4 separate regions of the Homo sapiens genome follow, and regions 1, 2 and 3 are each linked to region 4. Evidence: promoter capture Hi-C in 16 types of primary human blood cells and fetal thymus (Javierre and others, 2016). All regions are on one chromosome and are shown on one strand. The core of a region is centred on a gene start or on the middle of the fragment in contact, and the rest is flanking DNA. Distances in the headings are between cores, read along the strand shown.

Region 1 (3,682 bases), core at 479-2,978, 340 kb before region 4:
ACATTTAAAAGCTATTTCTTTAATATTTTAATTTTAGAGAATTCATTAGTAATTTATAACAAATCATGAAGTGACATCAGATGGCAATAAGGATGCCCTGATGTTTATTGAGTTTTAAGAAAAATAGGGCTTTTTTTGTTTGTTTTTTTAAGGAGTCATATTAGGAGTGTTTTTACTCTTTGTTCAAGAAAATGGTTCCTTGAGTATTATGCAAGCCATTAAATTATTTCATATAAACACATAGGAGGTGATTTTTTTTCCCTGGAGATTTTGTACTGGCAAACATGAGTCTCAGGTTTAAACATCACCTTGTATGTTGTAGATCTATTACTGTATATAATACAGTCATGGACATTTTCCAGTAAAAGGCCTAATGAAAACACAATGAAATTATAATTGCTGTTCAGAATGAAAAAAGATCTTTAAAACACTAATAGTTGATAAACTGATCTTTAATGTTATTTTCGCTATTGTTTATATTATAAAAAGATGTATTAAAATATTGTTACCAATCTGTGTTTTAGGAAATAAGTGCTGATGGCACCACTGGGATAAAAATATTTGGTGTAAACAAAATATTGGAGCAAGAGATTTGGGGAAAAAATTATACTTCTGAATTTTAAAGCAAGTAATGAACAGTCCAGAGTGACAAAAACAGAATATTTAATTCCTAACTACAGTTCTGTGCACAGAAATTCTATGTGTAGAAATGTCAGAGGTATTAAACCTCATAGGTTGATTTTGGTTCCTTTGTTTCAGTTTCCCAAAACTTGCTTTCTGTGCATTTACATACACGTGTGTATGTGTTACTATAATGTCTTGAAATAAGAAATAAAAGGATAAGTAAAATACAAATACCTATATGCAATTTATTAAAATAAGACTAAAGCCGAAGGTTGTTGAGACTTCTTTTTCATCAGAGTTAAATATTTGGCATTAATAATTAAATATCTATAAAAATTTTGAGACATTCATTAACATTTTTTCTTTTTTAAGCCAAATATTTCTGTTGTTAAAAATAATATTTTCCTTTTGATGAAAATGCACCTAACAACCAACTAAATAACTAAGAATCCATCCTATTAGTGTTGGGGGAAAACCACTGAAGTCTCTAGAAACCAAATTGGTAACTTTATTAATGGAGTCTTGAGCAAAGAGAATGTCAGCATCTAATTATTTAAATTTTATCAAAGCAAGTCTCTTGATAGCTGTATGCTAAAAGTGAGGTTTTTTTTGTTCTGTTTTGTTTTGTTTTGAGGTTTGAGGCTTTTTTTCCCCTTATCAACTCAAGTCTTTCCTGGTTATCCTGGGCTGTCAGTATTTGGTTATGGACTACATTAATTACTTAGCGTACAGAGGAAAAGATGTGTGTTTTAGATAAAAAGAGCTATTGCGAGCTAAAAATTATTAACAGATGGCCAGGTGCGGTGGCTCATGCCTGTAATCCCAGCACTTTGGGAGGTCAAGGTGGATGGATCACTTGAGGCCAGGAGTTCCTGACCAGCCTGGCCAACATAGTGAAACCCCATCTCTACTAAAAATAGAAAAAAATAGCTGGGAGTGGTGGTGCACGCTTGTAGTCACTCAGGAGGCTGAGGCATGAGAATCACTTGAATCCAGGCGGCAGAGGTTGCAGTGAGTGAATATCATGCCACTCTACTCCAGCCTGGGCAACAGAGACTCTGTCTCAAAAAATTAAGAATAAAAATAAAAATTAGTAACAGGCTGGATGCAGTGGCTCACGCCTGTAATCCCAGCACTTTGGGAGGCCCTGGTGGGCAGATCACTTTAGGTAAGGAGTTCAAGACCAGCCTGGCCAACATGGTCAAACCCCGTCTACTAAAAATGCAAAAATTAGCCAGGTGTGATGGCACACGCCTATAATCCCAGCTGCTTGGGAGGCTGAGGCACTGAGAATCACTTGAACCCGGTAGGCAGAGGTTGCAGTGAGCTAAGATGGTGCACTGCATTCTAGCCTGGGAGACAGAGCGAAACTCCATCTCAAAAGCCGAGGCTGATGGATCATGAGGTTAGAGATCAAGACCATCCTGGCCAACATGGTGACACCCCATCTCTGCTAAAAATACAAAAATTAGCTGGGCTGGTGGCACGCACCTATAGTCCCAACTACTCAGGAGGCTGAGGCAGGAGAATCGCTTGAACCTGGGAGGCAGAGGTTGCAGTGAGCCCAAGATCGCACCACTGCACTCCAGCCTGGGCAACAGAGCGAGACTCCATCTCAAAAAAAAAAAAAATTATTAACTGATAAAACTCACAAAATTTGGCCCTCATAATGAGTCCTCTAATCATCATTTTTTCAGTGGGGAGAATGCTACTCTTCTGATCACTGCAGAACATTCAACATCCCTGGCCCGCTAAGTGCCATAGCACCACACAGCCATTACGATTCCTCGGACCACCAACACTTTTTTTTTTTTTTTTAAATGCTGGGAGAGTTAGGGAATATGGTCTAAAATCTGAGCCCCTCTGAGATCAGGGAAATTATACCCAAGGTTATATAGTTAAATGGCAAAACTGAAATTTGAATTTGATCTTTTGATACCTAGAATTTAAAAGAAATTTAGATTCAATGCAGTTAATCTTTCAGAAATACCTACTAATGCTGATACATGAAAATTTGAGAGGGAGAAAAATAGTGGTTAATGCACTTGCATCTTGTATTGTGACTCATCTTGAATAAGTTACCCAAAGATAATGAGTTTTTCTTTTTTTCTTTTCTTCCTTTATTGTTTCTTTCTTTTTTGGAGAGAGGGTCTCACTCTCATCGCCCAGGCTAGAGTGCAGCATGGCTCAATCTCAGTTCACTGCAGCCTTAATTCCTGGGCTCATACAAGCCTCCCGCCTGTAGCTGGGACTACAGGCATGTGCCACCATACCCTGCTAATTTTTTTGTGTTTTTAGTAGACATGGGGTTTTGCCGTGTTGCCCAGGCTGGTCTCAAACCCCTGGGGCTCAAGCAGTCTACCTGCCTCTACCTCCCAAAGTGCTGAGTTTACAGGTGTGAGCCATAGGGCCTGGCCAAGTTTCTAATTACGTAAGAGAATTTAAGATCTCTGATTGGAACAGACTTTAAAGGCATCTAGTTGAATTATTTACCCAATTCTTGCCTCACCGATCTCAGCTTTGACCTTTCCCTTTACTAGTTTACTTCATTATAGTGTAGCCCATTCTACTTAAGGAAAATTCTAATGACCACAAAGTTTATATTTCTTGATTACCCAAAAATTTACTTCCTTTCACATGTGTGAATACAGCTCTAATCCCAGCAGTGTTCTCTTCTAACTGTGGTTTCTCTGGTTTTTCATGTGTTCAGAGTTCTCTGTTCTTTATCAATTTACTCACTTCTCTGGATGTCCTTCATTTTGCTAGTGCTTCTTTAAGTGTTATATTCTATAGTGTTTCATATGTACATTATCCTGTGAGAAAAATAGTTATGTCATTGCTCTGACCTGTCATTTTCAATCTCCTCCAAAAATCTTTCTTCAATCTGCAGTAGAGGCTAGCATCTCTTTTCCACATGATAGTTACAACAATGTACTTGATTCAACTGAATTAAATTGGGATGTAGAAAAATTTACCTTCTCAGTTGGAAATCAAGAGACCCAAGTTCTGCTATCACAATATAACCAACTGGATCAGAAAGATACCTAACTTCTCTTGA
Region 2 (3,731 bases), core at 1,029-3,528, 290 kb before region 4:
ACTCAGAAAAATGTATTTAGATTTGGGAATAGCCTCTAACGAGAACAAGGAGGAACATTCCAAATACTTGAGAAGTATAGTAGTCATACTTAAAACATGATTTACATAATGTTTTTCTTAGACCCCAAATTAAAGTTCAACAGCTCAGTAAGTGAATTGCTCAGCTGCAATAAGCAAGAAAACAGTCTTCCAGAGGGAGGGGGAGGGGGAGAGAGATCAGTAACTACTAGTGAAAGGAAACCTAGGTGACTACTGCAGAAGTGATCGGTAGACTGGGGGTTTTGTTTAATTCCCCAACCCCGATTTCCATTTCTTGACAGCTGAGGTTACAAAAGAAAGGCAGCCCCAAGGAGCTGATGATGTTTTCTTACCTTCTCTAATGGCAGCCAGACTCTCCCTGCTTCTGTAATCATCAGTTTTACTGACAGAAAACCTGGCTTTATTGCGGGTAAATTCCTGGCTCCGGGGTTCCACATGTGCTAACGCTGTTGGAATCAACAGTAGCTCTGGCAGGATGTCTGCCATGTCATCCCTATTCAACTTTAAACTGTTGGCACTTAGTCTTTTTTAGCCATGAGAACTTTGTGATAAATCTTTTTTGATTTAAAGCTTAACTACTAAATTAAAATTCAGATGAGAAGTCGGTGACATTTAGTACTACAGTTTTTCCAAGTCACACATAAAATATGTTTTGCTACCTTGAACACAAAAAGCTCTGACATAGGTAAAATGGATAATTTCTTAACCATAAACATAGCCTTAATACTGCCACAAATGAAAACAGTTGCAGAATCAAGACATGAGCAAAACAAAATGACACTGAAAAGGTATTCTGAATTAAAGTCTGCCGTATTTTAACAAAAAACAAAACTCCCAAAGTGACCTGACTTACAAGCTGCTATGATCCTGTTAGAAACAAAAAACCTAGTATCTTTGCCACTGAAAGCAATTATTTGGAGACCTCTTAGCAAAGGGTCTACTTCTGTAAAATTTTTGAACACCTAGTCTAGTTAACTTAAAAACAAACTTTAACTGTTAAAGAAACAAGAACTAGAGGTACTGTAACTTTGTGAAATTGGTATTGGTTTGCACTCAGTTAGTGGACAGGGCTTGATTTTTTTGTAAAAGGAACTTGTAAAAACTTCTTAGGGTTGTGACATACCTTTCCCCACGTTTCCTTACATCTTGTCCCAGGTATATTTTTGTGGAATTATAGTTCCCACGACCTTCATAGAATCTATATAAAATATGAGTTAAACTTCACATTTGGTTGTAATTTTACTTGGGATATTATTAGAAGCCACATCTCAGTTCTTTTTTTTTTTTTTTTTCTTTTTTTGAGACGGGGTCTCGCTCTGTCACCCAGGCTGGAGTGCAGTGCCGCAATGTCAGCTCACAGCAACCTCCACTTCCTGGGCTCAAGCAGTTCTCGTGCCTCAGCCTCCCAAGCAGCTTGCGCCACCCACCCAGCTAATTTTTGTATTTTTTGTAGAGACGTGGGGTTTCACCATGTTGTCCAGGCTGGTCTCAAACTCCTGAGCTCAAGTAATCAATCTGCCCACCTCCACCTTCCAAAGTGCTGGGATTACAGGCCTGAGCCACCACGCCGTGCCCCACATCTCAGTTCCTTTTAAAGCATTTGTTCTGTTTCAAATCGGGTTTTTATGTTACAGTGGATTTACACAATTAAAATGATAGCATATCTGGCAAACTTGAACTAATTTTCTCAAGGATCTGGATTAAATGGCAGGATCTGAGAGAAAATCTCCTGTCTATCAGTGCTATCACCAAGAGCTACTGAAGCCAGCTACTCAAAGCTGAGCTTCACTAGTGATGCAGCCATTGGGAAACCTAGCTAAAGACACTTCCTCCTCCTTCAGGGAACCTCTCAGCAACTTGTATTTGGCACTTTTTTCTACTGAATAAGAGGTAAAGCCTGGCACGGTGGCTCACGCCTGTAATCCCAGCAATTTGGGAGGCCAAGGCAGGCAGGTTACCTGAGGTCAGGAGTTCAGGACCAGCCTGGACAACATGGTGAGACCCCGTATCTACTAAAAATACAAAAATTCGTTGGCTGCGGTGGCAGGCAGCTGTAATTCCAGCAACTGGGGAGGCTGAGGCACGGAGAATTGCTTGAACCCAGGAGGCGGAGGTTGCAGTGAGCTGAGATCGCGCCACTGCATTCCAGCCTGGGCAACAGAGCGAGACTCTGTCTCAGGGGGAAAAAAAAAAAAGGAAGAGGAGGTAAACACATCTGCAGGCAGAGTTCAGCAGAGGCATCTGCCTCATGGGCTGTAGCCCAGTGGATTCTAAATGATACTAGGATCACAACTAGATAAGACTGATCACTTGGATGACCGTGAATTAAGACCTTAGATTTTATAAGAGATACAATGGCTCATATTCAGGGACAGCCAGACTGTTAGGTAATTTGAAGTCACACCACAAAAACCACATGTGCATCATCTTCCAAAAGGAGGCCATTTGCTGAGGTGTTTTGTCTCTGAGCACTAGTAAGTCTGTTGAGCCCTGTAAAATAATCCCAAATGGGACTGCCCAGTGAAGAATGTGGACTTGAGATTTAGTTGTTCTTTTACAGTCCAAATCATTGAAAGACAGCATAGCTTTTCTGTATTCTAGGCCAAAGGAATTTCTGTGGAATTCTGCTATGGGAGTTTCAGAAAACCAGCCTAAGCCCATTTAGTGTCATTCAGAAAACAGCTGATGCTTCATTGAGGGGCAGCGGGCGGGGATGGGGGTGACGGGTGCTTAACAGCCAACTCACAGCTCACCTTCGAGGCCACATCTTTATCTGGAATGCAGTGGCAAACCCTACCCCAAATTCAGGATGTTGCTGAGGAAATTTTCCACTGATTTGAGCTAAAACTTTGACTAAATCCCTATCAGTCTTCCAAAATCACTGAAGAAAAATTCTCAATACCTGAACATCTCCAGTGTTCTCATAGTTTTGTTGTTCTATCCTGGTCACTATGACAAATTTGAAAGGCAGATTATTCCAATTAAGTTGGTGTCCCACTGCCATCACTTACTGTGGGATTTGGAGTCTCTCAGACTTTTTCTCCATCAGGGGTAAAGTGAACGTACTACAATTTGCACTATCTCAAGACACTGATAAAGAAGATCAAAGTGTTATAAAAGCAACTGGTAAACCGTTAACATTCCTTAAAAGTGATACTGTATTTTAAAATCACTATGACCTTTTCTCAATATCATCTTGTTTAAAGACATAGTATTATTGAATAATTCAAAATAGTCCTTCAAACTTGAGTAGGTCTACCCAGGGCATCTGCATAAGTACATGAGGCTCTGTCTTGTTCTGTCATTAAGATGCACACCATCTTCAATTTTATAAGTATGCTATTTGTTTTTCAGTATTTTAATATTCTGTAATTACTGAGATGCTCCCACATATGATCTCCTTGTTTGGTCATACCAAGATCAAATAAGACATAATTATTACAATTCCTAATTGTGTGCCTCAAACCTAGGTTTAAATCCCACACTATGGCTGTGAGATGACTAGAAGTTGAGGGGGTAGCCCATAACTGGAAAATGCTTTCTGTATACAAGGCTAACCGTATTCCCTGGGGCTCAAAATTGTCTTCTCAGTTATGAGCTTCCCTACCTCTGGCCCCACTGCAGGTAGGACTTTGCTCTCCACACAGAGGGAATCCTAGGAAAATTGCCACAACAATAGGACAATGCTGTAA
Region 3 (3,626 bases), core at 1,059-3,558, 320 kb before region 4:
GAATCTCGTTCTTAAAACCAAAAAGATTTTAGGTGTTTGAGGTCCACAAGATTAGAAGAAATTCGGAGCCAGAGGATCATTCTACTTCTCTTGGGGCAGAAGCAACCATATAATGCCTCACCTTCTATGTAACTTACTCTGCACTATGCTAAATAAGTACATTGTTTTAGAATCTGCTGTAGAAGTAGGAGTTGGCAAAATTCTACTCATTTTGGATACTGTTAAGTTGTCCGTTGGAGCACCATGATGATAAAAGTCAGATACAGTCTTCATAGAAACCAGTTAATTTTGTGAGAGGGAAAATCTCTATTCTTCTTTATCTATCTCATAAATGCCACCATTAATCAAAAGACCAAGCAAGGGATAACTCAATAATAAGCCATCTTCACCAAAGTTGAGCATAGACATTCTTATGATGAGGGGGCACTAATATACCATTTGACTGTGAAGTGCAGGATAGCATTGGGTCTTTATAACGTGAAGCCATTTTTTTCTTTGCCATTTCTCTGAAGTGTTTGTTTTGTTTTGTCTTTTTGTTTTTGTTTTTTGTTTTTGTTTTTGAGATGGAGTTTCGCTCTGTTGCCGAGGCTGGAGTGCAGTGGTGTGATCTCGGCTCACTGCAAGCTCCGCCTTCCGGGTTCACACCATTCTCCTGCCTCAGCCTCCCAAGTAGCTGGGACTACAGGCGCCCGCCACCATGCCCAGCTAATTCTTTTTGAATTTTTTAGTAGAGACGGGGTTTCACAGTGTTAGCCAGGATGGTCTCGATCTCCTGACCTCGTGATCCGCCCACCTCAGCCTCCCAAATTGCTGGGATTACAGGCGTGAGCCACCACGTCTGGCCTGAAGTGTTTCTGAAAGAAGAATTTTATTCATGATAAATGAAATAGAAACTAATATAGGAGCAGAAATTAACTCAAAGGAGATTTGGATTCAGGTAAAAAGTCCTCCATGCCAAAAAAATGTTGAAATTGTTTCCTTTTTTCCCAAGGTCTTATACCCTGAATCTGATAAATAAGTCAAATTCTTCTTGATCTTTGTTTCATACTTGAATAGAAAAGTAAATCTTTACTGTTATTAAAATTATCAGGAATTCTTAGATTTTTTAAAATAGTAAAGTTTTAGAAAAGGTGAGGCTTATTAGTAGTAAAGCTTCTAAGATACGAAGATTAGAGGTAATTACTCAGATTTGCCCAGACCAGAGCAAAAAACTTGAAAGAGGTTTTTAAAAATCTTCTTTGCATATGCTGGAGATTAAAATATTGGTTTGTTATATATGCTTTAGTTGTCAGTGTTTAATATTTACCTGGCATAATTGTGGAAAGTTATCAGTAAATGTATGAAATTCAAGTATAGGGTTATATTTGAAATAGATCAAGAAATCTGGTGGTATTTGTATCAAGAAAGCATGTGTATATTTTTCTCATCCTATTATTTTCTAAATAACCTTAAGGTAGATGTCAGGAAATAGATCACAAAGAAGAGTCATGTCTTTTCTTCTTTTTTTTTTTGAGATGGAGTCTTGCTCTGTCACCCAGGCTGGAGTGCAGTGGCGCAATCTCAGCTCACTGCAACCTCCACCTCCCAGGTTCAAGCAATTCTCCTGCCTCAGCCTCCTGAGTGGCTGTGATTACAGGTGCCTGCCACTACGCCCAGCTAATTTTTTGTGTTTTTAGTAGAGACGGGGTTTCACCATGTTATCCAGGATGGTCTCCACCTCCTGACCTCATGATTCGCCTGCCTCGGCCTCCCAAAGCACTGGTATTACAGGCGTGAGCCACCGCGCCCAGCCAGAAGAGTCATATCTTAAGTGAAGATGGCTTTAAATAGTGTTTCTCAGAATAATCAAGAAAGCTAGAAAGGACTTTTCAGCCCCAAAGAACAGAGGGTATAAAGACATCACTCAGTATCTGAACACTAGACGCTGTTGTAAAGTTACTGGGTTTTTAACTTATACTTTGTAATAGATATTAATGCAGCTGAGTTAGCAAGCAATAGTGAGATCAGTGTCATTTTCTAATCGTATACCTCATATGCTGTGGGATGTGGAAAGCCACTAAACTTCAAAATGCTTATGAATTACTACAGAAGCTGTCTTTAAGTACTTCCTATAGGATTTAACATATCATGTGGCTGTTGTAGGGTGCTGTGCTCGTGTACACTAACGTCAGTATGGGTGAGGTTAATGAAAAATTCCAAGATCCATGGCCCAAGTGATATTGAAATGTAAAATTTTGAAAAAACTTTAAAGGCATTTATATATCTTCTTAGTTAAATATGGAAATTATCACCTTAATTTATTATACTATGTTGGCAGGATTTTGGAAAAATTCATCCTTACAGAGCTTAACTTTTTATTTTTATTTTTATTTTTATTTTTATTTTTATTTTGAGACGGAGTTTTGCCCTTGTCGCCCAGGTTGGAGTGCAATGGCATGATCTCTGCTCACCGCAACCTCTGCCTCCCGGGTTCAAATGATTCTGCCTCAGCCTCCCAAGTAGCTGGGATTACAGGCATTCGCCACCATGCCCGGCTAATTTTGTGTTTTTGGTAGAGACAGGGTTTCTCCATGTTGGTCAGCCTGGTCTTGAACTCCCAACCTCAGGTGATCTGCCCACCTCGTCCTCCCAAAGTTCTGGGATTACAGGCATGAGCCACCACACCCTGCCAAAGAGCTTAACATTTTAATTTCATTTTGGTTACTTATGATTTTTATGTTTCAAAAGCAATTTCCATTCTCAGAAGAAACTTTCTGAAACTGTAAACATCTTTGCTTTGTGAGATTGAGCAGTTAATGCTATTTTCTAGTCATATCTCTGTTACACATCAGTGCTCACTTGTAAATTGGAGAGACCTTTTGAGCAAGTGGGTTTAGGAATGCACTCTAGCTTCTGTTTTAAGGTCTTTTGAGAGAAGAACTTTGAGGAAAGATAGTCCCCCCTGAGGTGCGAACACTTCTACCTTCTCTTGTGCTTAAGAATATGGTTCTTGGACTGGGGGCGGTGGCTCACGCTTGTAATCCCAGCACTTTGGGAGGCCAAGGCGGGTGGATCACCTGAAGTCAGGAGTTTGAGACCAGCCTGGTCAACATGGTGAAACCCGTCTCTACTAAAAATACGGAAATTAGCTGGATGTGGTGGGGCGGGCGCCTTTAATCCCAGCTGCTCAGGAGGCTGAGGAGGGAGAATCGCCTGAACCTGGGAGGCAGAGGTTGCAGTGAGCCAAGATCGTGGCATTGCACTCCAGCCTGGCGAAAAGAGCAAAACTCCGTCTTGAAAAAAAGAAAAAGAATTTGGTTCTTAATATCTGGGGTTCCCTAGTACCTATGAGATCGAGTTTAAACTCTGCAACTGGCTCATGGTCTGTGGTCAGTAGCCTTTTCACTCACTGGTTCCAGTTAAGCCAGTAACTCTTCCATTATTAGCTAAGTGTACTCCACTGCCTTGTTGCTGTTATTCTGCTCACAAGCTTTTCCCCATAGTGAGAACCTTGCTTATCCCCTTTCTTACCAGTAAAGATTCTTCATTTCTGTTTTAAGGCTTAGGGTGAGATTCATTCCCAAGTGCCCTTATGAGAATTCTTGAGGCAGGGCACAGTGGCTCACGCCTGTAATCCCAGCACTTTG
Region 4 (3,828 bases), core at 1,095-3,594:
GAGATGCGGTTCCAGCTAAAAGTTAAAGGGTCTTAAAATTTTAGCTCTGGGAAAAGATATTAGGAAATTATTAAATAGTTCAATTTAATAATCCGGTGAAGGAACCAAAGCTTATAGCAACTAAATGATTTATGTGCCCAGGTTCACACCTTAAATTAGTAGCAGAACTGGACTTGACTTTCCTGACTCCTAGGTCCTCTTTTCCCTCTTTCTGCTCATTCCATTCCCAGCCCTTCTTTCTGCTGTTAAATCTCTAGTCAAACCCACTTTGGGAGATTGCAGTATACAGTAGGACTCCCAGGTTTATTCCATGCAAGGTTGGATTCCTGGGAATTTCTCTAAAGTTTCTCAGTATCTGAATATGAGGATAGGAATCCAGCAGCACAAATACAACAACAACAAAAGTGAATGAACTAACAACAATAGCAACCTCACAGGAACATTTTTAAGCACTTACTAGAGCCAGGCACTTACATATTTATTTTATGTAAACCTCATAACCACTCTATGAAACAAGTATGGCATTGTTATCCCTATTTTATACATGAAGAAACACAGCTCAGAGAAGTGAAATAAATTGCACAAGATCACCTTGTGAGTAACTGAAGGAACCAGTATTTGAACTCAAGTGTTCTGACTTCTATACATTAGAAACATGTGTAGGGTTATATGATGCCTGATAATATTGTTGTTAAAATGATTTAAACATTGGCTCACTAATTTGCAGTTTATTTGGAGTAGATGGTAATGGTTACCTGTCTTAGGACCGCCCAGGAATATGCAATTTATGTAAGAAATCTTATTAATATTGTGTCTTTTTTTCCTGTTACCAACAATTGTCTCATTAAATACAACAAATACTTATTGTTCATCCATGACAATTGATAACTGATCCTTTATTTAAAAACAAATAACCCATTTAATCCCTTCTAGAGCTACAGACTTTACCAAGACACCCTCTGGAAGAAATCTCTCTGCTTTGTTGAGATGACTTTTCCTGTTTTTTTGTTAAACCTAGCTAACATCCCTCCAAGTGAAGACTAAGTTTCTGCCAACCTTCACTCTAAGTAAAGAAACTAAACGCAGAGTACTCTTTCTGGAGAATTCATTAGGTGGAACCATATAAAACTACTGTTTTGGAGATTTTAAAAGTTAAATACTAGTAACTTTATGTGGTTCAATCTAACTTATTATAACTGGAACTTTTTAAAAGTCTAAGTTAATGTGAATTAAAAATTGACTTTTCTTATGCTTAAGGCCTAAATTTACAAATAATAGTTATAAGTAATCATCCCATTAGTTAACCAAATAATAATTAGTAGACTGCTTATATTTATTAGACTGCTTATTAAGAAGCATATTGCAAGGAACATGATTTTTGAACCAGAAGCACTTGTCCTTGATTTCTATCTCTACCACTAATAAGTACACTAATCAGTTTAACTTTGGTTTCCTCTTTTTATAGAACTAAGGATTAAATGACACAATGTCTATATAAGTACTTTATAATCTACAATTGTTACATACATGCTAGTTGGTTTTGTTATCACCTCATTTACTTACTAGAATACCCCATGAGGTATAAAACACATAATATTATTTTTTCTACTGGACACATGAGAAAACAAAGTCAGATGTTAATGCCTTGTCTATTGTCATTGACTTGTTGGAGAGTTGTAATTTCTACCCATGTTTTCTGACTTCAGATATCTCCATTACAAACAGTATTGTAAATACACAAACAGTATATTTACAGGTTGTATCTTAAGAGGCAATATTCTGTATACTATAGAAAAAGAATCTCAAGTTATAATAAATAAAAATAAGAACTTAATTTAAACAATGTTTCAGGTATTGTGTTGAATGCTTCACAACACCCTCATTTGGTTGATACCATTCTTATCTCCAACTTCCAAATTGGAAACCTGAAGCTTAGAGAAGTTTGATGACCTTCCTGAGTCTATCTACATAGTGAGTGGAGGGTTGGAACTCAAGCCCGATTTGAGCAGATTCTGAAACCTGCTTTTAATGGCTACTTGATGAAAACATATATTGCTTTTATAATCCGAAGAACCACCCCAAAGAAAATTCCACTGCAATGCTAACATGGGAAGGGAAATAATTGAAAAACACATTTCTTAATGCAGATGGCAAAAGAATGGAACCCTAAGTAAGTGGGCTGTGACATACCTGAGCCTGTTCCCACTGTAGCTCACTCATGCCTCCCGCCTCCTGAGGCAGCGGCAGGGCCAGGCTGCCAGGCAGCAGGCACACAGCACACAGCACGGTGAGTCGCATAGCTGCCGTCCAGAGACAATTGTTCTTGGACCTATGGTTGATTTGGTGTTTTCTGCTAGTGACTGCAGAAATTTATATAGCTTCTCAGCCTCGAATGTGGAAATAGGTGACTCATTTGAGTGTTTTCTTTCTTTTTAGAGTCTACAGAACTTTGAAAGTATGTGTTATTTTTCATTAACTAAAACGAGGAAGTATTACATCGTTATTGGCAGGAAGCACACAATGTATTTGTCTTTCAAAGGATTTTTTTTTCTGTCTGCTGCATAAATTGACTCCATGAGAAACCTCATTTTTTTGCCAAAGTCAAATGACTGCTCTCATAGGTATCATTCAGGACATTATGGTACCATATATTCTTAAAGAATAATATATATTCTTAAATATATATTCTTATTATATGGTACCATGTATTCTTAAATACATGGTACCATATATTCTTAACAATTAAAAGGTTTGGAAAAGTGCACAAAACATGTAAATAATGAAATAATAATTAAGCAAATACTGTAACCGTCACCAAAGTCAAGAAATAGAACATCACCAAAATCCTGTGGTTCTCCATACAGGGGAAAGATGGCAGGAGGCAGATGGAAATGCTGCTGTGTGGCTGGATTAGTGGCCACTCTATATACAACTGTGCTGTGTCCCCTCACCTTCCACGTCCCTTAGCAGAGCAGTGATAATTCCCTTCTTTGGGTCTCCTTTTAATCAGTTTATGTCTTTTCTTAATGGGGAACACTGCCTCTAATTCTTCTTGAATTAAACACAAAAAAATACCAAGCCAACAAAAATCTACAAGCACGGGTTTAACTCTTCATCTGGCTTACTTATTCTGCTTCTCATTTTATAGTAACAGATTCTTCCAAGGCTAGACCTTCAACTTGGAGATCCAATTTTTTTCTTCCAATCACTCTGACTCTGGCTGCTGCCCAGCTACAGGTAGGGCTGCATTGGTCCTTAGTACACAAAATGGTTATTCTACGTATAGCAGTAAGAATCCATTACCTACAGATTCTAGCCCAATGACTCCATTCTTACCAAAAATGAAAGTGAGGCCAAGATGATAATTTAACTTATTATACTTCTCCCAGCTCACACAGATAGTAGCTCAGTGCTTTTTCTATCCCACTGCACTGCCTATTCATTTTGTAATAGGTCTGTCTCTTTTATTATATTATACATTACTTGGGAGAACACCATGGCTTTTGACTCTAATACATCATGGGAAACACTCCAAATATGCTGGAGCTAAAAAATTTAATTAATCACATATCACTTCAATTACATGGTAATTGAGCACTGTGAGCCAGCAAAGGTAAAATTTTCAGATCAGTTAATTAAATTTGCTCTCTTTACAGAGATGTCTTGATTCTGTACGGTCACAGTTTAACTAGAGTAATTGGTATCCTTAGTCAGAGTTTGACATGTGATAAGGTGCACCATAAATATTTGTAGAATAATGAATATTTATGAACTTTACTTGAATAAGCTAAAAATGGAATTATATCACGTTTTTGGTAATATTTGCAT

The links. Contacts are between HindIII fragments. The CHiCAGO score rates a contact against its expected background, and 5 or more counts as called.
Region 1: a fragment that was not itself captured here is called in contact with the fragment with the promoter of MMP7 in region 4 in 1 of 17 cell types (non-activated CD4 T cells); the score reaches 6.0 in non-activated CD4 T cells.
Region 2: a fragment that was not itself captured here is called in contact with the fragment with the promoter of MMP7 in region 4 in 9 of 17 cell types (neutrophils, non-activated CD4 T cells, total CD4 T cells and 6 more); the score reaches 11.2 in neutrophils.
Region 3: a contact is called between a fragment that was not itself captured here and the fragment with the promoter of MMP7 in region 4, in 2 of 17 cell types (non-activated CD4 T cells and fetal thymus). The highest score is 6.8, in non-activated CD4 T cells.

What each region holds. Positions count from the first base shown.
Region 1 is chr11:102,188,933-102,192,614 of GRCh38, forward strand. The region is part of intron 4 of YAP1 (Yes1 associated transcriptional regulator); the gene reads left to right. Among named protein-coding and RNA genes, the nearest start is that of YAP1-DT, 80 kb to the left of the region's middle. The HindIII fragment of the contact is 4,595 bases long and covers 1-3,682 here.
Region 2 is chr11:102,234,793-102,238,523 of GRCh38, forward strand. No RefSeq gene overlaps it. Among named protein-coding and RNA genes, the nearest start is that of BIRC3, 81 kb to the right of the region's middle. The HindIII fragment of the contact is 3,342 bases long and covers 608-3,731 here.
Region 3 is chr11:102,210,211-102,213,836 of GRCh38, forward strand. All of the region lies in intron 6 of YAP1 (Yes1 associated transcriptional regulator), which reads left to right. Among named protein-coding and RNA genes, the nearest start is that of YAP1-DT, 100 kb to the left of the region's middle. The HindIII fragment of the contact is 2,317 bases long and covers 1,151-3,467 here.
Region 4 is chr11:102,528,403-102,532,230 of GRCh38, forward strand. MMP7 (matrix metallopeptidase 7) reads right to left here and starts at 2,345. Exons shown (of 6, transcript NM_002423.5): 1 at 2,191-2,345. The coding sequence starts at 2,298. The HindIII fragment of the contact is 6,591 bases long and covers 1,930-3,828 here.